6 separate regions of the Homo sapiens genome follow, and regions 2, 3, 4, 5 and 6 are each linked to region 1. The links are contacts of gene promoters, found by promoter capture Hi-C in blood cells and fetal thymus (Javierre and others, 2016). All regions are on one chromosome and are shown on one strand. The core of a region is centred on a gene start or on the middle of the fragment in contact, and the rest is flanking DNA. Distances in the headings are between cores, read along the strand shown. Region 1 holds the start of NETO2 (neuropilin and tolloid like 2). Region 2 overlaps ABCC12 (ATP binding cassette subfamily C member 12). Region 3 overlaps ABCC12 (ATP binding cassette subfamily C member 12). Region 4 overlaps ABCC12 (ATP binding cassette subfamily C member 12). Region 5 has its middle 94 kb from the start of LINC02134. Region 6 overlaps LOC124903686 (a long non-coding RNA gene).

The links. The method cuts DNA at HindIII sites, captures the fragments that hold promoters and counts their contacts. A CHiCAGO score of 5 or more calls a contact.
Region 2: a fragment that was not itself captured here is called in contact with the fragment with the promoter of NETO2 in region 1 in 8 of 17 cell types (megakaryocytes, M2 macrophages, naive CD4 T cells and 5 more); the score reaches 10.5 in megakaryocytes.
Region 3: a fragment that was not itself captured here is called in contact with the fragment with the promoter of NETO2 in region 1 in 17 of 17 cell types (fetal thymus, M2 macrophages, megakaryocytes and 14 more); the score reaches 28.2 in fetal thymus.
Region 4: a fragment that was not itself captured here is called in contact with the fragment with the promoter of NETO2 in region 1 in 1 of 17 cell types (M2 macrophages); the score reaches 10.4 in M2 macrophages.
Region 5: a fragment that was not itself captured here is called in contact with the fragment with the promoter of NETO2 in region 1 in 5 of 17 cell types (M2 macrophages, M0 macrophages, endothelial precursors and 2 more); the score reaches 12.7 in M2 macrophages.
Region 6: a contact is called between a fragment that was not itself captured here and the fragment with the promoter of NETO2 in region 1, in 1 of 17 cell types (endothelial precursors). The highest score is 5.6, in endothelial precursors.

The regions. Positions count from the first base shown.
Region 1 is chr16:47,141,811-47,146,055 of GRCh38, forward strand. NETO2 (neuropilin and tolloid like 2) reads right to left here and starts at 2,135. Exons shown (of 9, transcript NM_018092.5): 1 at 1,769-2,135. The coding sequence starts at 1,802. It overlaps ITFG1-AS1 (ITFG1 antisense RNA 1), which reads left to right and starts at 2,258. Exons shown (of 4, transcript NR_110904.1): 1 at 2,258-2,684. RefSeq lists silencers at 139-228, 239-288, 1,116-1,265, 1,436-2,275, 2,336-2,665. The HindIII fragment of the contact is 8,905 bases long and covers 1-4,245 here.
Region 2 is chr16:48,134,449-48,138,693 of GRCh38, forward strand. It overlaps ABCC12 (ATP binding cassette subfamily C member 12), which reads right to left. Exons shown (of 31, transcript NM_001393797.1): 8 at 3,780-3,927. Among named protein-coding and RNA genes, the nearest start is that of ABCC12, 19 kb to the right of the region's middle. The HindIII fragment of the contact is 3,978 bases long and covers 234-4,211 here.
Region 3 is chr16:48,112,468-48,116,712 of GRCh38, forward strand. ABCC12 (ATP binding cassette subfamily C member 12) reads right to left here. Exons shown (of 31, transcript NM_001393797.1): 15 at 2,948-3,151. Among named protein-coding and RNA genes, the nearest start is that of ABCC12, 41 kb to the right of the region's middle. The HindIII fragment of the contact is 1,397 bases long and covers 1,817-3,213 here.
Region 4 is chr16:48,077,280-48,081,524 of GRCh38, forward strand. ABCC12 (ATP binding cassette subfamily C member 12) reads right to left here. Exons shown (of 31, transcript NM_001393797.1): 31 at 3,603-4,245. Among named protein-coding and RNA genes, the nearest start is that of ABCC12, 77 kb to the right of the region's middle. The HindIII fragment of the contact is 1,873 bases long and covers 1,036-2,908 here.
Region 5 is chr16:48,057,124-48,061,368 of GRCh38, forward strand. No RefSeq gene overlaps it. Among named protein-coding and RNA genes, the nearest start is that of LINC02134, 94 kb to the left of the region's middle. The HindIII fragment of the contact is 7,460 bases long and covers 1-4,245 here.
Region 6 is chr16:48,037,621-48,041,865 of GRCh38, forward strand. The region is part of intron 1 of LOC124903686 (a long non-coding RNA gene); the gene reads right to left. Among named protein-coding and RNA genes, the nearest start is that of LINC02134, 74 kb to the left of the region's middle. The HindIII fragment of the contact is 3,764 bases long and covers 1-3,707 here.

The sequences.
Region 1 (4,245 bases), core at 885-3,384:
GAATCCTTTCCTGAAAGGTACAACACTCAACGCTTCACCACGATGGCCAGAGAGGGCAGTGTGCACCCACGGGAAAGGCAAAGGCAGAAACGCTGCAAATCCCTTCACCATTGGAGGAGGCGCTACCAGCCCCTACCCTATCCAGCTCGATTTTATCAAGTTCTGCAGGTAAAGCGGTGTGACAGATCTACGCGATTTCATCCGGGGGTGCTCTCGGATGCACGGTCAGTAGCATGCTGACAACCTTACCGTAGTGAGGGCGCAATCCGACAACGGCAGAAAATTCAGATAAGCAACACGATCAGAAATCCTAGTGTGCATACGGTTTATCACGAAAGAGTAAAAACATTCCTTTCCCAGGAATGACTGTAAAAATTAGGAGTTAGAGATATGAAAGCCACAGGATGAATTTCAGAGTTGTTTTCAATTGTAATAAAGAAATCACTACGGATTTACGGTTTGTGAAATATTCATCAGCTAGAAAGTCCTAGGTTACCTTAGTACAAGCTGTAGATACGTTTACAGTGGGGTAGTTAAACGTTTCGAATTACTGAAATCTCAATTACGAATTTAGGAATATGTGGAGAGTAGACAATGTGTCCAATTAAAATCAAAAGCAAAATTACACTGAACTTTCTAATAAAACAAATTTGAAAAAAGTGCTGTTAGGGAGCAGGAAAAAAGTCACTCTACAAATATTAAGATACAGTGCTGAGTTATACATAACACCGTTAATAATGCCTCAGCCGTACCCTCGAAATTTTTAAAAAAAGAACATGTTACGACATTACAAACACGTCAGCTTTCAATTTAAATCAGCAGGGGGAAAAAGGGAAGTCCTTTACTGAGTGGTGGTGCTGTTTTCCCTCTGGAAATTGAAAAGACGATTTATTCAGTCCGAGTTTCAGGAGCAACTTTGTATCCCAATCCTAATTATCTATGTATATAAATTTTCATCTAAATTACCACCTCCTGGGAAATGCAAAGCCGGTGGAGTAGGTTTTAGAGCTCTGTGCTCTGGACAAGCCAACTGTTTTAATTCCCAGTACAACAAATTAGTAAGAACCGAACACCAGCGGCGGGGAATTCTGAGACCTCTGGCGGAGCGCGAGGAGCGCCGCGTCCCGGGAAGCACCCGAGCAGCAGCGCTCCCCGGGGGCCGGGACAAGCCGGGTCCGCGGCGCCCGCGCGCCGCCCCCGGAGCCCGCAGTGGTGCCGCAGCCTCCGTGGCCGCAGCAGGTGGGACCCGGCTGGCCCAGCAGGCCCCGTTCCCCGCCGCGAGGTGCAGGCGCCGCGGGGCTATTCGAAAACCACTGCACGACGTCACGGCCGCGGCTTTTATTGTTCTCGTGGAATTACTTTTTGCCATCACATCTGGAGAAAGAGCGGCCTCCGCTCCACGACAGGAATCTCACAACTTTGCAAAGGGATGCGCGGAATTCTACGGAAGCGGCGCGAGGGCGCAGCCCGGAGGGCCCTGCTGGGCCCAGGGGCCTCCTGGCCGCCTTCCCGACCCGATCCCTCTTCCCACACGCGCCCCGCGAACGTCGGCCGGACTCGCAGGGGTCGGAAGCGGCGCGCCCGGAGAGCCGGCGGAGCCGGGCAGGGCTCGCGCCCCGCGGTCCGCTCCGAGTAGCCGCGAGCCCCGCCAGACAAAGAGGCGCGTCGGGTCCCGGGCGCGGGTAAGGGACGCAGAGGCGCGGGCAGGGCGGCGCGCCAGCCTCGGCCCGCAGGGGGCGCCGTCCGTGGCCCCAGCCCCGGTCCTTACCTTTGAGGACCGAGCAGAGCCGCTCCAGGGCCATGTTCCCGAGCTGCCCGGCGCTTCGCGAAGGGCTGAGGTAGCGGCGGCGGTGGCTCGGCGCTCACGGCTCGGCGCGGCGGCGACGGCCCCACTCCGTCCCCATCGCCGGCCAGCAGCTGCCTCCCCGCTCCCCTGAGGAGAGCTCAGGTCCTGCGGCCCGCCATGCCCGAGCCCCACAGTGGGCTCCCGCGCGGCCCGAGCACCCCGACGGGCGCCGCCTCCTGCTCCGCGGCGCCCCGTCCCATCGACCGCCCGAGGGCCGAGGAGTGCGGACGCGCGGCGCGGGACCGGCAGGCAGCTCCGCCCGCGGCCCCGGCGCGGGATCCACTGAAGTGGCGGGCGCGGGGCGCCCAGGCTCATTTAAGGAGGGAGCGCGAGCGCCGCGTGCCGGCTGCGCCGCCTGTGCGCATGTGCCCGCCCCGCCCCGCCCCGCGCCGCGCCTCGCGCGCCCGCCGCGGCCTCGCGCCGTGGGACGGCGTCGCTCCCCGCCGGCTGCCGTTAGGGCTGGGAGCCGGCTGGGCGCGGGGGTAGTGAGGGTGCCTCTCGCCGTGGCTGCGCGGCGGCCTCGTCCGAGAGGCCGGCGCCGGGGCAGTGACCGGCCCGTGCCCAGCCGCCGCGCAGGGCGCCCGGGGCAGCTGGCCGAGCCCTCGATGCCTCCCGTCTGACGGAGGCGCCCGGGAAGCGCCGCCCACCTCGGCCCCGCACCCTCGCCGGCCTGCCGGGTCTCCGCCAGCCCTAGCAGACAGAGAGGGGCGCCGGTCCCTAGTCCCCCAGACCTCCATTCAAGGTCAAAACTTTGCCCAGCTCAGCCTTGCTCGACCCTGGGCAGGGAAGCGCGGACATCGGCAGAGGGAGCCCGAGGCTCTCCGTGCCCTTCGCGCCGGTGAGTTCCCGACCCGCGGCGCTGCCGGCGTTTCCCTAGCGCCCGCCAGGTTGACAGGCACTTTAGTACCAACTCCTCAGACTCCCCCTCATGAAGTAGGTTTTAGGGGATTGGAAAGTCGAGGCCAGAGAGGTGAAGCCCTTCGTCCAGAGCCGCGTAGCGAATGAGCGGCAGGGCTGTGCACCTCCCCCGGGGCTGCCCTCCTAGCAGCTAACCACTACGCTGGGCAGCTTCGCCAGCTGATGGGAGTCTCCAGGTCTGCCAACAACTGCCTGGCTGTTGGTGGTATTCATGATCCTGCTTTATTTTCTCCACAGCGGTTATCACACTGATATGACCTTCCTCATTTATTTATTTGTTCATCCTTTATATCTCCCTCACCCTCACACCATTAAAATATCAGCTGCTTGCAGGCAGGCCGACTGCATTCATTTTTTTCACTCCACACATACGTATTGGGTGTTAATTATGTGCAGAAGACAATGATTGGTGCTGGAGATAACAACCGTGATCAAGGCCTTACCATAATAGAATATTTATGCCTGTCTCTGCGTGTAGTAGGAACTCTGTAAACGTTTGTCTAACCAATTGTAGCTAAAGACAATGTCAGGCAACTGAAACATTTTTCAGGTGTTAAGCTCTTCTCTCTCACTTTGTATTCCTTCAAGAAAGGTACAAAAGCATAAATAATTCATGAGATTTACAAAGGAAAAACATACTTAACACCAATTAATATCGAGGTGTTTCACCCTTTGCCATGTGCTGTGAATGGGGGCATAAAAGATGGGTAAGTTTGGGTTCCTAAAGGTAACCACCTACTACAGTTAAGATCGCACACGAGAACCAATTAGGAAATAAAACATTTAAGAACTTTTTCCCACGGATATGAAAAGGTGGCTCACGCATGTAATCCCAGAACTTTGGGAGGCTGAGGCAGGCGGGTCACCCGAGGTCAGAGGTTTAAGACCAGCCTGGCCGACATGGTGAAACCCCATCTCTACTAAAAATACAAAAATTAGCTGGGCGTGGTGGCACGCGCCTGTAGTCCCAGCTACTAGGGAGGCTGAGGCAGGAGAATCGCTTGAACTGCACTCCAGCTTGGGCAACAGCGAGACTCCGTCTCAAATAATAATAATGATGTAGCATATTAGTAGAATAGGAGAGTAAGAAGACAATATTAAGTATAGGTTACAGACAACAGTGAACCAAAAAAATTTGAGAGGAAGGGGCTCTCAAATTAACATAATAGTTTCTTAATGTGAAGTTGTTGACTGAAGGAAAAATCTGCGTGTCATGTCATCAGAGAAGACTTCCTGAAGGAGGTGACACACAAACCATGGAAATGCTTGGGGTGGCGAGAGGAGAGGAGGCAGAAGAAGAGCTCAGCAGGCAGGGAGCAGGATGAGCCTGGAACGTGGGGCAAGTGTTGTGTTTGGTATAAAGAGGTTGGACATGGTGGGCTTTGATTATGGAGATAGGTGCTCAAATGCTAGTTAGGTAAATGATTACTTTTAATAGTGCAGTAATGGAGTTCTGGGAAGATTTCATCTGGCAGTTGAGG
Region 2 (4,245 bases), core at 973-3,472, 990 kb after region 1:
TCCCTATAGAAACTAAAGGTTATATCTTAACATATGTCCTTGAGTTGTATTTCAGAAAACCTGGACCCCCATCCAATTGATCCATTGGCACACAGACCTCAGAGAAGGGGGAGCCGAGGACAGAGCTCTGACTGCAGTTTTTGTTCTAAATTTCTTCCTGAGGGGCCTGGAGGAGGTCACGCCCAAAGGCCGGATCCAACACTCTTTTCTGCTAACTCCAAATCTTTAGACAAAGCTTCCTTTCCTTAACCAGGTGCAAATCAGAAAATCTTTCAATCTACCCATGATTTATAAGCTGCCTACTTTAAGATATCCCACCCTCAGCCAGGAGTGGTGGCTCACGCCTGTAATCCCAGCACTTTGGGAGGCCGAGGCAGGTGGATCACGAGGTCAGGAGATCAAGACCATCCTGGCTAACATGGTGAAACCCCGTCTCTACTAAATATACAAAAAATTAGCCAGGGGTGGTGACGGGAGCCTGTAATCCCAGCTACTCGGGAGGCTGAGGCAGGAGAATGGCATGAACCCAGGAGGCGGAGCTTGCAGTGAGTCGAGATTGCACCACTGCACTCCAGCCTGGGCGAGAGCGAGACTCTGTCTCAAAAAAAAAAAAAAAAAAGATACCCCACCCTTTCAGGCCAAACCAATACATAATCTCCATGTATGAGTTACGATTTTGCCTGTAACTTCGCTTTCCTGAAATTTAGCCCTGCCTTTAAAAACCCTTGCTTGCAAGCCACTGGGGAGGCCAGGTCTTAAGCATGAGCCGCCTGATTCTCCTTGCTTGGCACGCAGCAAATAAAGGCCCTCCTTTCTCCTGCGGCAAAACCTCAGCGTGGATATTTGGCCTTACTGTGCCAGATAAGCAGGCCACAGTTCGGTCCAGTAACAACCAGATCGTCAACCATTTCAAAGTCTGAGGTCCAGATTTTTATTTATTTATTTATATTTGAGACAGAGTATTGCTTCGTCACCCAGGCTGGAGTGCAATGACATGATAGAGCTCACTGCAGCCTTGACCTCTCAGGCTCAAGCGATCCTTCCACCTCAGCCTCCTGAGTACCTGAGACCACAGGCACATACCACCACACCCAGATAATTTTTTTTTTTAATTTTTTGCAGAGTTGGGATCTCCCTATGTTGCCCAGGCTAGTCTCGAATATTTAGGCTCAAGCAATCCTCCCATGAGGTCCAGATTTTTCTGAGACATCTCCCTATTTTTAAATGTTGGGAACTAAATGAAAAAACATTTTTAAATACTATACTGTATGGGGAGAAATAAAACACATGTGCTGGCCTGAAGGCACCTGCCTGGTGTCCCAAGAATAGACACAAAAACTCAAGAGTATTCTCCCCTTCCTAAGTCCAGAACATGCCCACGGCTCTGCAAAGCTCACAAATTACATTCAAGCCTCCTTCACCTCCTGTTTTTTGTCCTCAACCCCAATTCCAGCCTCCTCTGCAAAAGCCCTTTCATATCCACACAGGACAGCTCCAGATGTTCTAATGGCGTGATCACTACATGCCAGGTGCTCTGCTCAACACTTCACAGGTGCTTTCTCATAAGATCGTCCTCACCACTGCATGATGAGAGAGAGTCTGTTATTTTATGCCTTTTTGACAGGAGAGCAAACTGTCTTCGAAGGTTTGCTTGCGCAGGTTTGCTTCACTGAAAACTTGCCTTTTCAGTGATCAGGGCAGAATCGAAGCCCACTTCTCCTGGGATCCAAGCTCTGCTATCCAGGTGCCCTTCCCCTAAAGAACATCCAGCACCCCCTAGTCCCCAAGAGCACCCTCTTATCTCCACCTCCAGGCCTCTGCTCCTCCCTAAGTGGGCTTCCCCAGTTCTCTGTGCGTCCCAATCCTTCCTATCCCTTTGGCCTACCTGAAAGCCACTTCTGCAGGGAAGCCATTCCCAGTCTCCCCAACCCAGTGTGCTCCCCCATGGAGCATCTCTGTTTCTCTTGTGGCACTTCCTCCATCTTCCCCCATAGAATAACGTGAATTCATGTGTTCACTCACTTAAGATATTTGAACCTGATGTCTACTACATGCCAGGTGCTGCACCTGTGTTTGGAGAATAGAGGAGTGAACAGGGTCTCGGCCCTCTTCCAGTGGGATAGATAGACAAGAAAGAAATAAACAATTAAATAATTACAAATTGTGTTGAGTGATCTGAAAGAAATGAGCAGGATGAAGTGATTGAGAGGTAGGGCATGGACATGCTTGGAACTGCAGCCCAGAAGTCCTCTCTGGACATTGAGAAGAGACCTAAAGTCAAGACAAAGTTACTGTAAACATCCAGCAGGAGCGCACTCCAGGCAAAGGAAACAGCAATTGCAAGGATCCCGAGGCATGAACGAGTGTGGCGTGTGGTTCTAGAAACAAACTAAGGCAGACACCGCTAGAGCTGAGTTTCCTAAGGTTACAGTAAAGTGTGATGATGATGTCAGAGAGGTCACCAAGGGCCAGATCATGTCTGACCTAACAGGCCATATGAAAGAATTTGGATTTCCTTCCAAAGACCTAACTTTGAATAATCTTAAGTGTGATAAGAAGCCACTATTTTCCAACAGGGGAGGAACAGGATCTGACTGACATCTTTTAAAGGTCACTTTGACTGCTGAGTGCACAATGGATTGCAGGAGGGAGGGGGAAGGCAGGAGCAGTGCCTAGATGTCTTGCATAGTCCAGGAGAGAGAGGATATTGGCTTGGACTGGGTGGGAGTGGAATGGAGACGAGCAGATGGCTTCCGGATATACTCTGAAGGTAGAGCCAACAAACTCGTGGCTATTTTTGAGCTAAGTTATCTTATCCTCCCTTACTCATAAAAGCAGGAAACTTTTCCATTTCATTTGTGTAGCTCCCATGGCCTTGCACAAAGTAGGAACTTGATATATATTTATTGAACTAAATCGACAAGTTAAATTAAGTTGAAATCACATGGAATCAAATTTAATCAAATCAAATTAAATTGCACTGAAGTGAACTCAGAGTGTGAGGATGTGTTTCTGGGTTTTCAAAGAGGGTCCCCTAGTGCTGCTGGGGTCCCAACCTGGGGCACTTCCTTTGGCCAGCTCAGAAGCAGGTTCTCTACAGCCACTCCCTAGAGGGCAGATACACAGCTTTGGCCCAATTCCATGCTGGTGCAAAAGTGTAATTGTCCATCCAGACAGTCAATTGTAACAGTGGTTCAGATCATTAACTGGTGAACCACCTGAGTCTATGTCAGCAATTATGTAAATGTCCCTGCAATTAGATTTGCATTTATATTTGATCAAAATAGTTTCTATATCAGCTTTAAAAAAAGTAAAACTACATATGCATCTCCTCGTGTCTGCCCAAGGAGTGTTGAGTCAGTGGACCATCCGAACACAAGGACGCTGCTGCAGGCAAAGAGGTCTGTGTAACCCTGGATGTGTGAGTGTATGTGTGTGTAGATGTCTTCTAAGTTAAGTAAATAGCTGGAGACAGCTTTTTTCCTGCTCACAATGTTTTTAGTGGATTATTTTTATAAAAAGTAACTCGCCAGGACCAGGATCCACATGCCCCAGGAAAGAGAAACCATATGTCACTCACCCCTGGGTTCACCAGAACAGATGCCTGGCTCTATTATTAAATCTCCATAATCCTTTGAAAAATTCTTTGACCTGCAGAGCAGCTCAGAGGGTCCCCTCAGCCTCCTTCTGGAATGCCTGGCCCTGGGAACCGTAAGAACCCCTTAGAAGAGCATATTCTACAAGGTAAGTGGTTCTTTAAGCAGCTACTCTTGTCCTACCTTGGATAGTGTTGGTAAAAGATTTCTCCCAGGCATACATTTTGATCAGCCTGATGCAGGTCAGAAACTCATTCATTGTCTGAACTCGCTTGTCTGTCACCAAAATTGCTGACCTTCGGAAAGCTGAATTGAGCTTGGCCATAAACATCTGAAATCAAGGTACAAACACTGTTTTCAGAGAGAAGTGCTGAGTTGCAGCTGGCCTAAAAATCCAGAAATGGGAGTGTAAGTGCCAGAAAAAGTTCTAAAGGAAGTTGGCTTCAGATTCTCAGCCAAGTTCTTCCCTTGAGTTGTGGCTGTTGATGCTGTCTGAGGAACACCATGGGGGGTCAGGCAGGTCATGTAAAGGCATGAATTGCCAGGACTCAAAGAGAGTGCTGGGGGCTTTGACAAATTGAAGAGGCATTCCACTTCCTAGAGCATTCAAATTCAAGCTTTTTTTAAAAACCTTCACTGTGGCCAGGTG
Region 3 (4,245 bases), core at 1,265-3,764, 970 kb after region 1:
CACCTATAATCCAGCTACTCAGGAGGTTGAGGCAGGAGAATCGCTTGAACTCAGGAGGTGGAGGTTGCAGTGAGCCAAGAAGGTGCCACTGCACTCCAGCCTGGATGACAGAGCAAGACTCTGTCTCAAAAAAATTAAATAAATAAATCGAAATCTGATCATGGAGATTTGGAAAATAAAACTGACAGTCACAGCAGCCAGGACTTGGTAGGGAGGGGAAATATGATCTTCACGAAGGTCCTCCTGTGTTCTAAAATTACAAGCCTCCCTCATCATCCCCATTTAGCCCAGGAGAAGCAGACCACGGTGTGGTCTCCAGGCAAGAGGCCACATTCCCTGGCCTGAGGAATTTATGCCAGCTTTATCTATGAGATAAAAACACAGCTACATTTAATGCTGGCATCCCACATTTTGCCCAAAGCACTTCTGTTTTTTTTAATTTGAATTCCCTTCATTTCCATATCATTCCTGAGATCAAAGAGTTCTGCTAAGAGGGTTTTCCTTTCATTTTGGAATGAGACACAGAGCTCTCCCCCCAGGATCAAGGAAGCTCCCTCCTAGAGGTGGGCAAGATGCTGAGACTAAAGATGGTTTGACCGAAAGAAGCCTTTGCAGTATGGGCCAGAGGTCTTCCCTGATACTGCACGGTTCATCCAAGGTCAAATCAACCTCTGCTGCTCTTGATTACAAGCCTGAAAGAAGTAGCTGTGTTCGGTCATTGTACACTTGATTGGGCGAGTTGGGAGGGTGCCCAAAGGCTGAATGATAACAGTTCTAACAGCTTGGACAGCTCCAGCCCTCATGCCTCCCTCCCACTAACTGCCCAGCTCCCTGTCTTATCAGCTGATTTTTCAGATGGGGAAACTGAGACACCATAAGCCTGTTCCAGTCCCATAGCCACAGCACACGCTCCAGCTCCAGGAGCTCCCGGGGAAGCCCCCTCTGGTCAGCAAGCCCCCAGTTCACTCCAGAGATATGAGGCAGATTTGAGCAGCTTTGTTCTGCAAGCCGTCACCAAATCTGCACCTGGGTTGGATTTCAGTGGTTTCCTTAGAAGAGCGATCATCCACCCCAACCACTAAGATGCTTGCCTGTGGGCCTGGGAGTAAGAGCAGAGGGGATAGGCTCTGGAAAAGCCCCGGGCCGCAGTTCTGGGGCTCTAAGTTCCATTCTCCCTGACAAGGCACAGCAGGACCAAGATCTTGTGCCACCTGGTGGCTACCTGCCTCTTCCAACTTGCAAAAAGTTGGATAAAATGACACGGGAAGGTGGAATCTAAGGAGATGGACCTGGTGTGAAGATGGCTCCTGCCTGAGGTCATACTGCGGCTCAGTCAGTTTCAAAGACCGAACCAGGACCAAGGTTATGATTCCCCTCATGAGGACTCCTGGAGGGACAGCCATGACCCACATCTGTCAGGGATGAGGCATCCCCCTCCAGATCCCCAGAGCCCTTGGAGGACAGCCCTCCCTGCTGCAGGGTGTCTCCAGGGATATTCCAGGTGCAGAGCTAGGGCTGCCAGGTTTAGCATCCAGACTGGGCCAGAGCCCATTCTGTCACCTCATGAGGGTCTTGAAGAAATCCAACCTTGTCCTCCATCCTAACTCAGAAGAAGAACTAGGCCAGAAGAAGAACTAGGAGCTCTTGCCCACACCAGCCCAGCATGATGCTTCCTGGAGGTGCTCAGGCCCACTCAGAGGAAATCCAGACAATCCCCATGCGCAAAATTCGGATGCCTGGAGCTTATTCCGGGACCAGAACTCTAGCCCTGGGCAAAGGTGAGCTCAGGCTAGGGGCAGCATCACAGCAATGGGAAAGCTTGGTTTTACAGGGTCTTCGAGGAACACCCTCTTTAGGCTGGTCCTCCTGGCCACTACTGGAGGGTCCTAAAATGCTGGCTGCAGCATCCTATAGCCATGGCAACTTTATTTGCTGCTATTGCCCCTCCCTCTCCACCCCAGCTTGACTTACCTTTGCAAAGACCTGCTTCCTGCCCCCAGACCAGGCCCTTATGTAACATGTTCTCTGCAGGTAGCAGGAGAGTAAAGAAGACGGGACACTTGCTCTCCTGCTCCAATAGGCCTTTCAACATAAGTCAATCCCAAGGAATCTCTCGTCGGGCAAGGAGACACCCACGTGCACGCATGAACACACACGTGCACACACATGCACTGCCCCCCCTTCCCCCACACATCTCTGGGGATTCCCTACAAAGAAGAGAGAGGGAGATGGTCTGGAAGCAGGGAAACCTGGCCTGGGAGGAGGAGGTTCTTGGATTCCCATCAGGCAATCAGGACGCCTTATGTGAGACCAATGCAGTGAGGGCTGTTCCCACTCTGCCAAATTCTTAAATTCACTGAGGTCAAGCCCAGTCGCTTTCTTCAGTGAGATTCATGCTCCTTAGCCTGAGACAGTGGCCCTGAGCAGAGAGAGCTTCCCCAAAGCCTCAGCCTTAGTCCCAAAGTCCTGGCTTCAAGCCCCTTTCCCCTGGGGTGTGATACCTGGGGCATCTGGGCCCCTCATCCAAGAGGTCTACCACCCCCTGACACCCCCAGTCAAGGTATCCCTGGCCTCAGGCTTGCCCAGAATTGCTGGAGTAAGGGTGGGGCCGTCATTGTTTTCCCTGGCTCCCCATCTTACCAGGCGCCCAGAACTTGGGGAAGGGTGCCCCAATCCACCCACAGGCAGGACTCAATTGCTTCTAGAGAATCTACCCTCTGGTGCAGGAAAAGTCTTGGCCCCACTGAGGCCATGCATGGAGTGGAAGAGGTGGGCCTCCTGGGAGCCAGGAAGGCTGGGGAATCATGAGTGTCTCTTGCATCCCTGGCTCCCTCCCCACATTCCCAGCTGAAGACAGGCAGATATAGGCAGAAGAGGAGGCTCTGTGAGCATCAGATCCCCAGCCACACCCATCCCGTGACCTCCTGGATCCTGCATGTCCCATCACCTGTAGCTGGTGGGTCACCAGGACGACTGTCTTTCCCCTGAGCGTCTTCTTAATGCACTCCTCAAAGACGTGCTTCCCCACGTGGGCGTCCACGGCCGACAGGGGGTCGTCCAGCAGGTAGAGCTGACGGTCGGAGTAGACAGCGCGGGCCAGGCTAATCCTCTGCCTCTGCCCCCCAGAGAGGTTGAGGCCCCGCTCCCCAATCTGTGGACAGGGACAATGCTACTGCCCATTGTCAGCCCACCCTGAAGTTCTTGGGCAATGGAAGCTTCCTGGAGCTTCTCAGGACTCAGGGGAAAGACGTACACACTGATCCTCGCCATATCCAAGTTCCTCCGCCCCTTACAGGGCCCCCGGTCACACGAGACTCTGTGGTGAGTGGAAGTGCTCCACTTGTCTACCTCTCCAGGAAGCCCAGTGGGCAGCGGCAACGAGGGCAAAGCTCTTTCCCATGAGGATTGAGGGGTGCCCATCTCACAAGACCCCAGCCCAATGCAGATCCCACAGGGAGGGGCTACGTCATTTTTATCACCAAAGGGAATTGTGTGAGCAGAGAGCTGGGGAGAATGCAGCAGTGAACCAGAGGGAAACGTGGCTGGGTGCAGATGGAAAAGCGAGTTCCCTATTTTGTTTACTTGTAGAGCAACTATCCCATCCCTAGGCAACTCTAAGCACTGTGGAGAGATAAGCCTTGACTTCCTGGTTCATCATCACCACCCTAAGGCCTGGCACCATGCTGGGCACAGAATAGGTGCTCAGTAAATATTTATGGAAAGGATGATTGCTTGCTGTAGGTGATTCTATCCAATGGAACCCAAAGTGAACCCCAGGTGTTCAGCCAGATGTTGAGTTAGGCACGGGGCGGGACACACAAGCTGGACAAGAGAAGTCCCCTCTCCCTGGGGAGCTCCACGGTGGGCAGGGTAGTTATGTACATAATAGCAGCAGCAAGCAGAATTTCACAAGCGCCTGCTGAAGAGCATCAGTAGAGTACTTTGTGGCAAATTATTCAGGTGGTGGGACTTGGGAAAGCCTTCCTTGAGGAGGCAGATTTTGGGTTGAAACTCAAAGGATAGTGATGTCACAGGAGCAGAGACTTAGAGGCTAGGAAGTGAGTGGACACTTTGGCAGGCAGGTAGGAGCATGGCCTGGAAGGGTGAACCAGGGCTGCAGTGTGGGAGGTCTCAGATGCAGGCCAGGAAGGCTTCACGGCCACTTCCTTGGGGATGCAGACTGAGGGCACCAGTAGAGAAAGACACCCCAAACTGCCTTTCCTCAGAAAGCTTTAGCCTTCTGAT
Region 4 (4,245 bases), core at 722-3,221, 940 kb after region 1:
AGCTATGTTAAAAAAGGAACCTTGCAAGATGGGCTACCACAATTTCTCTTTCTAAAAAATGCAAAGCCAATAAGCACATGAAAAGATGCACAACACAACTCATTAGGGAAATGCAAATCAAAACCACAATGAGATACCACTTCACACTTATTAGGATGGCCTTAAAAAGGAATTAAATTCTGATACACGCTGCAACATGGATGAACCTTAACTGAAATAAGCCAGACACAAAAGGACAAATACTATATGATTCCATTATATAAGGCACCTCATGCAGACAGAAAGTAGAATAGTGGTTGCAGGGTTTTACGGGGACAGGGGAATGGGGAGTTTAGTGGGCACAGAGTTTCAGTTTGGAAAAATGAAAAATATCTGGAGACGGATGATGGTGATGGCTGCTCAGCAATGTGAATGTACTTAATGCCACTGAAATATACACTTAAAATTGTTAAAATGGTAAATGTTTTGTTATTTCCATTTTACCATAATAAAAAAAATTATTTAGAGCAATGCAGAACAATTGCCACAAACCACGCTGAGGCTTCTTTGAGTGTGGCTCTTGCCAGGTGAAGGAGGCAGGTTTGTGCTAAAACAATAGAAACTGACTTGGTCTGGTCCTTGAATGCTGGTCTCGGCAGAGGGAAAGCTCTCAGCTGAAGCCAGGAACGTGCACATCATGAAGTTAGGCAGGGCTTCTCCATGGAAATTGACATTTATTTGAAGACGTTAATGCTTGATTTGGCCTTACCCAGAAGTGACCTTCTACACAGGGCCAAAAGAAAAGTGATTTCTTTGATCGTCCATCTGACCCAAAACTGAACTCCTGCCTTTTCCAATTCATTTTGAATCATGCTGTACTGGCCAAAGTGATTCCAGCTCTTAGCAAAGAACATTTCATATTTTACCAACAATTCTGGGCCAATTTCAGATCTGTTCACTTGAACAGCAAGAATAAAATCTGTGAGTTCTCTCTGGGTCTTTCTGATCTTAAGCAGTAGGGAGGGAAGGCAAGGGGAATATTTATAATTTGCGTGAAGCTTGGGGGACAGATGAGAATCGGAAACTCCTCCCTGCTTCAATGTGAACTGGCTCACTTGGGCCACATCTGAGTGGGAGGGAGACGGTGTAACTCGCAGTGCGGGGACTGGGATTCTTTCTTCCTCAGGTGAGGATCAGCATCTTCCCAGGCAAGAGGAGAATATGACTCTTCTGTGTTGTTTACAACACTTTGGGCTGCAAGTAACAGCAAGACCAACTAGAGTTGGATTAAACAACAAGGAAAATGTATCCTCTATAACAGGACAAGAAGAAGGAGCTATACAAAAGAATAAGATCATGTCCTTTACAGCAACATGGATGCAGCTGTAGGCCATCATTCTAAGTGAATTAACGCAGAAACAAAACCAAGTATCACATGTTCTTGTAAGTGGGAGCTAAACATTGGGTGCACATGGACATAAAGATGGGAACAACAGACACTGGCGACTCCAAACGTGGGGAGGGAACAAGGATTGAAAAACTGACTATTGGGTATGTTTTCACTACTTGGGTAATGGGCACACCAGGAGCGCAAATCTCAGCATCACACAATATACCCATGTAACAAAACTGCATGCATACCCCCTGAATCTACAATTAAAAAAAAAAAAAAGACAAGAGGTAGGGTGACTTCAGGGTTGGTATATCAGCAGCTCCGTGCAGTAAGCAAGTCCCTGTGCTCTGTCCTTCTGTCTTGCTTCCTTCATGCTCACACGAGGCTGCTGACTCCCCAGATAGACCAGGCAACGGGAGGGTATGCCTTCCAGACCCCATCCCGACAACCAACAGACTTCCCCCTCATATGAATCATATCCCACGCCAATGCCCCAAATCGGAAGACAGCAACCTTTCTCTGTAAAGGAACAAGATAGTAAATATTTTGGGCTTTGAGGATATACATTTGGTCACAATCACTCCACTCTGCTGTTGGAATGTGAAAGCTGTCATAGGTAATGAATTAACAAATGAGCATGGTTGCATTCTGATGAAATTTTATTTATAAAAACAGGTGGGCTGGCTGGATTTGGCCTATGGGCTAATTTGTCCACACTTTTTCTAGACCAGGTAGCCTCAAAATTAGCTCCAGGATACAAGTGTTGATGAAACAAGTCACAGGCAATTTGTTACCAATTTATAACCACATGCTTGTAAGTGGCTTATTCCATTCTCTGTTGGCATCTACTATTCAAAAGGTCCTAATTCATAACATTGAGCATATGATCACCCAAAAGGCAGATGATATCAGAGCACAGCAAAGCTGGGGCACTGAAATAAATGAGAATAAAAATTTCAAGGCCAGGCGCAGTGGCTCACGCCTGTAATCCCAGCACTTTGGGAGGCCGAGGTGGGCGGATCACTTGAGGTCAAGAGTTCAAGACCAGCATGGCCAACATGGTAAAACCCCGTCTCCACTAAAAATACAAAAATTAGCCAGGCATGGTGGTGCACACCTGTAATTCCAGCTACTCAGGAGGCTGAGGCAGGAGAATCTCTTGAACCTGGGAGGTGGAGGTTGCAGTGAGCCGAGATTGCGCCATTGCATTCCAGCCTGGGTGACATCTCAAAACAACAGCAACAACAACAACAAAAACATTTAATTACATTTATAGGGCATTCTAATCCCCTCTGAATGCCCAAATTCCAATAGAAACTGTTTTCATATCTCCTTTTTTGTTTCTCCTATATTGAAAGTCAAGAATGAAAAAGACCTTAGCACTTTGTCCAAATTTTACAGATGGAATGGAGGTTCAGAGAAGGCAAGCTACTTTCCCCATATCACACAGCCACTCAGTGGCAGAATGAAGATCCCAACCCAGGCTATAGTAGGTTGTTGTATTGTTCAAAATATTTGCTGCCCCTCCAAAGAGGAAGCTTATACAACTCCTGCTGGAATAAGCTTGGTCCTTGTGCCTTATGGTGGCCCTCCCTGTGGAGTAGGGTATATACCACCACCACTACCCACACTGTTGAACTCAGGAGCAGCCAGGCAATTTGTTTTGCCCATGAAATGTGGATGAAAGTAGCATGTATCACTTCCGATTGCCATGTCTGCCTGCCCTCTACCACAAAACATGATGTTCCTGGCAGAGACTGCTCTGCTCCGCTGGGTCACAGAGTGAAGAGGATAAGCACAGTCACAGCTCACCTGTGATGGATGTGTCACATAAGCAAGAAATAAGCCAGTGTGGTCTGGGGTCTTTTGTTACTGCAGCATAACTGAGTCTACCCAGACCAGTACTCAGGCTTTACAACACAGGCACTGCTCTTTCTCACCAGGAGGATTGCATTTCTAGCAGTGTTGCATGGAATTTAACAGCACATGTTTTATTTTTATTGTATGTATTTCTGTAGTGACGAGGTCTCACTTTGTTGCCCAGGCTGGTCTCATACTCCTGGAGGAGCACACTTTTTAGAGTCAACCTGCCTGGATTCAAATCTCACCAGTGGCTAACCTTGGTCAAGTTACTTTCTTGATGCCTCAGTTTCCTCATCAGTAATATAAGGATAACACTTGTACTGTGTTAGTCTATTCAGGCTGATATAATAAAATATCTTAGACTGAGTAATTTATAAACAACAGAAATTTATTGCTCACAGTTCTGGACGCTGGGAAATCCATGGTCGAGGTGCCAACAGATTTGGTGTTGAGTGAGGGCCCATTCCTCACAGATGATGCCTTCTATGTGTCCTCACATGGAGGAAGGGGTGAACAAGCTTCCCCAAGTCTCTTTTATAAGAGAGCCAATCCTATTCATGAGGTCTCCACCCTCATGACCTAATTAATCACCTCCTAAAGGCCCTACCTCTATACTGTCACACTGAGGATTATGTTTCAACAGGAGGATTTTGGGGGAACACAATGTTCAGATCATAGCAGACACCTACCCCACAGGGATATGTTCAGGATTTAATAACCTAAGCCTGTGCTTTGAGGAATTTGGCTAAATGGCTACTATTATTCTACATAGTCTCCCCTTGGCTGACATGGCAGTGATAGCAAGGGGTTGGGGTGGGAGAGGGGTTTGCTAAGATGGTTTCGTGTCTTATACATGCAAACAGCCAAACCCTCAGAAGTCACTCTCCCCCAGGGATGATACTGATGACCATCACTGTCCTTGCAACAGGCCAAGGGGAAAGGACTGGAGGGGCTTTGTTGTGAAGGGGTTGGGAGCAGGGCCTGTGGAGCCAGACTGGTTAGGGTTCAAG
Region 5 (4,245 bases), core at 1,169-3,668, 920 kb after region 1:
CTCTTTTCTTATGGCCTTAGAGTCTAGTGCCAGGGTTGGCAACACTTTTCTGTGAAGGACCAAATAGTAAATATTTCGGACTTACAGGCCATATGGTCTCCATGGTAACTACAGCTCTGTGGCTGCAGCTGTAAAGCAGCCATAGACAAAACATAAACAAATGGGCATGGCTGTGTTCCAATAAAACTTTATTTACAAAAAAAAAAAAAAAAAACAAGTTGTAGGAAGGCGGAGGGCTTTGGCCTGCTGGGAAAGACATGTTCTCTTTCTGCTGAGATTTTTCTTTTTCTTCTTCTTCTTCTTCTTTTTTTTTTTTTTTTTTTTTTTTTTTTGAGACTGAGTCTTGCTCTGTCGCCCAGACTCCAGTACGGTGGCACGATCTTGGCTCACTGCAGCCTCCGCCTCCCGGGTTCAAGGGATTCTTCCGCCTCAGCCTCCTGAGTAGCTGGGATTACAGGTGTGTGCCACCACGCCCAGCTAATTTTTGTATTTTTAGTAGAGACGGGGTTTCACCATGTTTGGCCGGGCTGGTCTCAAACTCCTGGTCTCAACTGATCCACCCGCCTCGGACTCCCACAGTGCTGGGATTATAGGCGTAAGCCACCCGTGCTTGGCCTCTGCTGAGATTTCTAAACTGACAGAATGAAGCTCAGGGGCCATCTTTGCTGCGACACAGGGAGAAGGTGCCTGAGAATTAAGCCATCCTGGGAAGGCAGAGTGGAGAATCCTCATGGCATTCATGACATTTTTTTTTTTTTTTTTTTTTGAGACGGAGTCTCGCTCTGTCACCCAGCCTAGAGTGCAGTGGCGCAATCTCGGCTCACGGCAAGCTCCGCCTCCTGGGTTCAGGCCATTCTCCTGCCTCAGCCTCCCGAGTAGCTGGGACTACAGGCGCCCGGCGCCACGCCCGGCTAGTTTTTTGTATTTTTACTGGATACGGGGTTTCACCGTGTTAGCCAGGATGGTCTCGATCTCCTGACCTCGTGATCCGCCCGCCTCGACCTCCCAAAGTGCTGGGATTACAGGCGTGATCCACCGCGCCCGGCCTCATGACATCTTTTGACCCCCTGGATTCAACCAGGTAATCATATATAAAACGATGTATACTTTCGTCTGTACCTTTGGTTATTTTGAATCAATAAACATTTCTCCCTCCCCGCCCCCCCCCTTTTTTTTTGGCTTAAGCCGGTTGATTTGGGGTTCTGTCACTTATAACCAGAGTCCTGACTGATACCAAACCCAAACCCATTCTTGAACTCCTTTTCTCCTTTCTCTATGTGTTTTCCCTGGGCAATATCATCCACCTGCCTGAGTTTCTGCTGTCACCTCTGTGTAGATAACCCTGACATATTTTTTGTTTTATTTTTGAAATAATAAAACAGGATCTTTAGAGTAGAATTTTTTTTTTTTTTTTTTTTTTTTTTTTAGTATTTATTGATCATTCTTGGGTGTTTCTCAGAGAGGGGGATGTGGCAGGGTCATAGGATAATAGTGGAGAGAAGGTCAGCAGATAAACACGTGAACAAAGGTCTCTGGTTTTCCTAGGCAGAGGTCCCTGCGGCCTTCCGCAGTGTTTGTGTCCCTGGGTACTTGAGATTAGGGAGTGGTGATGACTCTTAAGGAGCATGCTGCCTTCAAGCATCTGTTTAACAAAGCACATCTTGCACCGCCCTTAATCCATTTAACCCTGAGTGGACAAAGCACATGTTTCAGAGAGCAGGGGGTTGGGGGTAAGGTTATAGATTAACAGCATCCCAAGGCAGAAGAATTTTTCTTAGTACAGAACAAAATGGAGTCTCCTATGTCTACTTCTTTTTACACAGACACAGTAACAATCTGATCTCTCTTTCTTTTCCCCACATTTCCCCCTTTTCTATTGGACAAAACCGCCATCGTCATCATGGCTCGTTCTCAATGGTCGCTGTCTCTTCAGAGCTGTTGTATACACTTCCCAGACGGGGCAGCCGGGCAGAGGGGCTCCTCACCTCCCAGAAGGGGTGGCGGCCAGGCAGAGGCGCTCCTCACCTCCCAGACGATGGGCAGACGGGCAGAGGCGCTCCTCACCTCCCAGACGATGGGCAGACGGGCAGAGGTGCTCCCCACCTCCCAGACAGGGCGGCCGGGCAGAGGGGCTCCTCACCTCCCAGATGGGGTGGCAGCCGGGCAGAGGCACCCCTCACCTCCCAGACGGGGCGGCCGGGCAGAGGCACCCACTTCCCAGATGGGGCGGCTGGGCAGAGGCACTTCTCACATCCCAGACGATGGGCGGCCAGGCAGAGGCTTCCTCACTTCCCAGACGGGGCGGCCGGCCAGAGGTGCCCCTCACTTCCCAGACGGGGTGGCCGGGCAGAGGCGCTCCTCACATCCCAGACGGGGCGGCCGGGCAGAGGTGCTCTTCACATCCCAGACGATGGGCGGCCGGGCAGAGGTGCTCTTCACATCCCAGACGATGGGCGGCCAGGCAGAGACGCTCCCCTCTTCCCAGGTGCGGTGGTGGCCGGGCAGAGGCTGTAATCTTAGCACTTTGGGAGGCCAAGGCAGGCGGCTTTCCACCAACCAGAGGCAAAATGTGCATCTTTCCAGTTTGACAATCCTTCACTGAGGAAACGATAAGGCAGGTACCACAGAGGACAACTAGGCGCTCAGCCCACTTATGCAGCTGAGTCTTTCCCTTGCGTACATTATTGATGCCAAACAATAGGATTCGATCCAAATGATCCATGCGGCAATGTTTTTCACCATAAAATCGAATCATACAGCCGAGGTCAGGATTTGTAGCCTCCTCCTGTATGTGCACAGGATCATCAAATCCCAGCCTGGATAAGTAATCATAAATGATCTGAAGAGGTCGTTCAGTAGGTTCCAGTCTCCTGTAATCCCAGCACTTCAGGAGGCCAAGGAGGGAGGATCACTTGAGGTCAGGGGTTCAAGACCAGCCTGGGTAACATAGTGAAACCGCGTCTCTTCAGGACCCGGATCTCTCCCGGCCGGCGGCTCGCGGGCGCTTCAGGCGGCTCTGGGGGCTTCAGCGGTCCCGCGGGCCCCGGCTCCACCTCCCCCCATCGGCGACCCAGGCTGCACCTAGAGTAGAATTTTTATCATCCTTTTTTTTTTTTTTTTTAGACAGAATCTCACTCTGTCACCCAGGCTGGAGTGCCATGGTACAATCTTGGCTCACTGCAACCTCTGCCTCTTAGGCTCAAGTAATCCTCCCACCTCAGCCTCCCGAGTAGCTGGGACCACAGGCCTGTGCAACCATGCCCGGCTAATTTTTTTTTTTTTTTTTTGTATTTTTAGTAGAAATGAGGTTTCGCCATGTTGCCAATGCTGGTCTCGAACTCCTGAGTGCAAGCAATCCACCTGCCTCAGCCTCCCAATGTGCTGGGATTACAGGCATGAGCCAATATGCCCGGCCTTCTGTTTTATTTTAAATTTAGAGTTGGAGTCTCACTATGTTGCCCAAGCTGGTCTCAAAATCCTGGGCTCAAGCAATCCTCCCACCTTAGCCTTCGGAGTAGCTGGGCTTTTATAGATGTGAGCCACTGTGCCCAGTCCTGACATCTTTATTTCAGGCTCTAACTTTAATCCTGAGCCCCTATTTCCTCTGGCCTACTAGACATTTTGCCTAAGATATCCAGGAAGTATAACATGTCTAAAACTCAACTCAATACTCTGGTTTCTCTTCAGATGGTATAAATCTTTCACCTTTTAAAACTCAACTTATTACCTAACCTCTTTCCCTTCAAATGTCTTTTCCTGTGTTTCATAATAATACTAAAAATAATACCCAAGAGGCACTGTGACTCATGCCTGTAATCCCAGCAATTTGGGAGCCTGAAATGGGTGGATTTCTTGAGCCCAGCGGTTCGAGACCAGCCTGGGCAACATAGTGAGAATCCACCCTACCAAAAAAAAAAAAAAAAATACAAAAGTTAGCCAGATGTGGTGGTACACACCTGTAGTCCTAGCTACTCAGTAGGCTGAGGTGGGAGGAATACCTGGGTCAGAGAGATGGAGGCTGCAGTGAGCTGAAATCACACCACTGCCCTCCAGCCTGGGTGACAGAGTGAAAACCTGTCTAAAAAATAAATGAATAAATAAATAAATTAATAATAATATCAACTGAGCTATTATTACTATGGGCAAGGTCTTGTGGTAGGCACCATATTATTTCAAAGGTCCTAATTAGCATGCAAGGCAGATATTATAAGTCCCCTTGTACAGATGAGTAAACTGAATCTGAGA
Region 6 (4,245 bases), core at 576-3,075, 900 kb after region 1:
AGATGATATTCACAAATGATTCATCTGACAAGGGATTAAAATCCAGAACTCAAACAACTCAATAGAAAAAACAAATAATCTGATTTAAAAATGGGCAAATGAGCTGAATAGACTTCTATCAATAGAAGACATACAAATGGCCAACAGATGTGTTAAAAAATGCTCAACATCACTAATAGTCAGGTAAATGCAAACCAAAACCACTATGAGACATCATCTCACCCCAATTAGAATGGCCATTCTCAAAAACACAAACAAATAACAAATGCTGCTGAGGATACAGACAAAAAGGAACTCTTACACGGTGTTGGTGGGAATGTAAATTAGTTAGCACAGCTATTATGGAAATGGTATGCAGGGTCCTCACACACTAAAAATAGAACTATTATATGATCCAGCAGTCCTATTTCTAGGTGTATATCCAAAGGAAAGGAAATCAGTACGTCAAGGAGTTCTCTGCACTCCCATGTTTGTTACAGCACTGCTGACAGTGGCCAAGATATAGAATCGACCTAAGTGCCCATCAACAGGTGAATGAATAATGTGGTATATATACACAATGGAATACTATTCAGCCATAAAAATAATGAAATCCTGTCATTCATGGCAACACAGGTGAACCTTTATTCACGATGTTAAGTGAAACAAACCAGGAAAGACAAATGCTGCATATTCTCACTCCTTTGCGGAAGCCAAAAAAGTTGATCTCGTAAAAGTAGAGAGTAGAATACTGGTTACCAGAGGTTGGGAAGTGGCAGAGGTGTAGCTAAACATTGGTTAACAGATACAAAATTACAGCTAGATAGGAGAAAAAGTTCTAGTGTTCTATAGCGTTGTCGTGTGACTATAGTTAACAACAGTTTATTGTTTTCTTTCAAATAACTACAAGAGCAGATTCTGAATGTTCCAAACACAAAAAAGATTAATATTTGAAGTGACAGAGATACTAATTACCTTGATTTGATCATTACATATTGTATACATGTATTGAAATGTCATACTCTACCCCATAAATATATACAATTATTATGTATCAGTTAAAAAATAATAATAAAAGAGGGAAAAGATTGCTGTCCTTCAACCTAAAAATACTTCTGGGCATGGGACCCCATGGTTTGTGGACAGACCAGGTTGTCCTGGTGCCAATTAGACATCCATGGAATACACAGTGTGTGATTTACTTTCCCTTTTCAACTAAGAGTGAATGAAATAAAATTTGGGGCTGGTGAGCCACCCTTTTTGTAATCCTCTGAGAGAAAATGTGAGAAAACGTCTGGCCTGGAAATAACCATTTTTAAAGCCCTTTTTAAAAGCCCACTCTTGGAAAAATAGTGATGTCAACCAGCCACTTCCTAGCCTTCTATGCTTTTTCCCACCATTTTAATGAAGAGGGCTTCCCAGACATCATGAATTTTGCATGAAATCCTCATTTCTCTTTAAAGAGATTTAGTGCCAAAACCTTCTGTGACAACCAAAACCCATGTTTGAGTTATATTGTTAATGTCAATATAACTCACAGTGATGTGTTGTGTTGTGGAGACAGTGGGCAAAATAGCCATAAATTCCATCCTAAGTGTACCATCTCCCCAACGTTTCTGGCATTGTCTGCTGGACTGTCATGACATCTCTTCCTACAGACCCCCAGGAAGGGCAACATCACTTCCTGGCTCCGAAGCCTCAACCTGATGCTTTAATAATAGATCCTGATTGTCCTATCAAAACTACAATCCCTTCGACATTCATTTAATCTCTTCCTTTTGAGGTCATTTCCTAAAACATGAAAATCACTGCTCAGTTTTGTCCTTTTCCTTCCTATTTTTGAAGATGTCATTGTTTCTGCTGAGACCAGCACCAAGGGCGCTAGATGATAAAGGCAGCTTGCAGGGAAGGTTTCCTTGGGCACAGGGCCCTAGATTCTCACCCTGAATTGGATTTCAGGTAGTCCCACTCGGAGAAGTTGTTAGCTCACTTCCCGGCTGCCTCTTCATTTCTTTGCAATGCCAACAAACCTACTGCAAACACAATGAAAATTCTTCCCTCGTTTGAATCTGTGCTTACAATCTCTAATTAAGTAATAACTTTCATAGCACTCTGCTTCTCCAAGCCTGAACGGTATTTCCATTACCTCCTCTACTGAAGTCAAAATTACAGACCTGTCATTTTTGGATTTTTCTAAAAAACGCAAGCATTAAATTATACCTACATTCACCCATTAGTAATTTCTCTTCGTGGTGGGTGTTTAAATCTATTATAATGACTCTACTATCTCTTCAACTTTCTATCCCTCTCAGAATATTGATGAATTCTACCTCATTCTGGACTGCCTGTCTAATTTTGTCTTTTAATTTCTTGATGAAACATGAATTTGATTTTATAAAGTTCTTTTTTCTTTCTCTTTGGGAAAGGAAAAGAGAAACATCTTTCTGATGTGGAGTTACTATTCCTCTTTAAGGGTGAAAAACTGATAGAAGAGGAATTACCTTTTAGGTTTCAAATTGTCTTTGAGCAGAAGTGACTCTTCAGTCGCAGACAGATTGGGTCCCTTGTTCTGGGGTGTGTAATCATTTTTTGCCACTCACTCACACTTTGATGAAAATACAAGTTTTGTGTGCTTTATATGTATTGATTCTTTTAATCCTCATAGCATCCTTACAAGGTAGTGTATTAGGCAGTTCTTGCATTGCTATAAAGATATACCTGAGCCTGAGTAATTTGTAAAGAAAAGAGGTTTAATTGGCTCGTGATTCCGCGGCTTTACAAGAAGCATGGTGCTGGCATCTGCTCAGCTTCTGGGGGGGCTTCAGGAAAGTTACAATCATGGCAGAAGGTGAAGGGGGAGCAGGCATGTCACATGGCCAAGCAGGAGCAAGAAAGAGAGTGGGGAGAGGTGCCACACACTTTCTTTTCTTTTTTTTTTTTAGATGGAGTCTCAGTCTGTTGTCCAGGCTAGAGTGCGATGGCACCATCCCGGCTCACTGCAACCTCTGCATCCTGGGTTCAAATGATTCTCCTCCCTCCTGCCTCAGCCTCCCGGGTAGCTGAGATTACAGGTGCCCACCACCATGCCCAGCTAATTTTTATATTTTTAGTAGAGACGGGGTTTCACCATGTTGGCCAGGCTGGCCTCAAACTCCTGATCTCAGGTGATCCACCTGCCTCGGCCTCCCAAAGTACTGGGATTACAGGTGTGAGCTACCGTGCCCGGCCTTTTTTTTTTTTTAGACAGAGTCTCACACTGTCACCCAGGCTGGAGTCCAGTGGTGTGATCTCTGCTCACTGAAAACTCCACCTCCTGGATTCAAACAATTCTCCTGTCTCAGCCTCCCGAGTAGCTTGGATTGTAGGTGTGCGCCACCACATCCAGCCATGCCACACACTTTCAAACCACCAGATCACGTGTGAATTCAGAGCTAAAGCTCACTTATTACTGAGGGATGGCCCAAGCCTTTCATGAGGACTCTGGCCCCATAATCCAAACACCTCCCACAAGGCTCCACCTCCAATATTGAGGATTACATTTCAACATGCGATTTGGGTGGAGACAAATATCCGAACTATATCAGATAGGTTCTATTATTGTTCCCACTTTATAGATGAGGACACTGAGACAGAGAGGCTAATGAACCTTCTGAAGATTGCACAGTGAGCCAGTGTCAGATGCAGATTGAACCCAAGTTGTAGTTTGGCTCCAAAGTCCACATCTGTCAAGCTTTTTTGAGTCACAAGTAACAGAAGCTCAACTCAAAATAGGCAGAAAGGAGGATTTGTTTCCAAACCTTGAAAAGAACGGGAAGTCTCTCTGAAACTATTGAAGCTGGAAACTTGAGTGACCTCGGGACTTTATCTGTGATCTCTTTGTGTCCCCCAGAACCCTGAGGCTGGCTTCTTCCTGAAGGCTGAAGTCAGGGTCACCAATTACTCTTTAGCTGACCCTCCCAGCCTTACATTGAAAATGAGGCTCTTGCTCCCAAGCTCCAATTAACAAAGAAATAGAAAAAGAAAGAGAAAAACAGGAAAGAACAGGTTGCATGCCCAGGGGCTGGATCAACCACTATGGCCAGGAGGATGAAGTATTAGGATTGGTTCAGCCTGGGTTAATTGCCTGTCCTTAAATAAGTTATTGTGGAGGAGATAAAGTAGCCTCCAGCAAATCACATTTTAAAGTCATGAAATTTAAATAATAATAATAATAATAATAATAATTATTATTATTATTATTATTCCCTAAAAGATGGAGGATGGCAC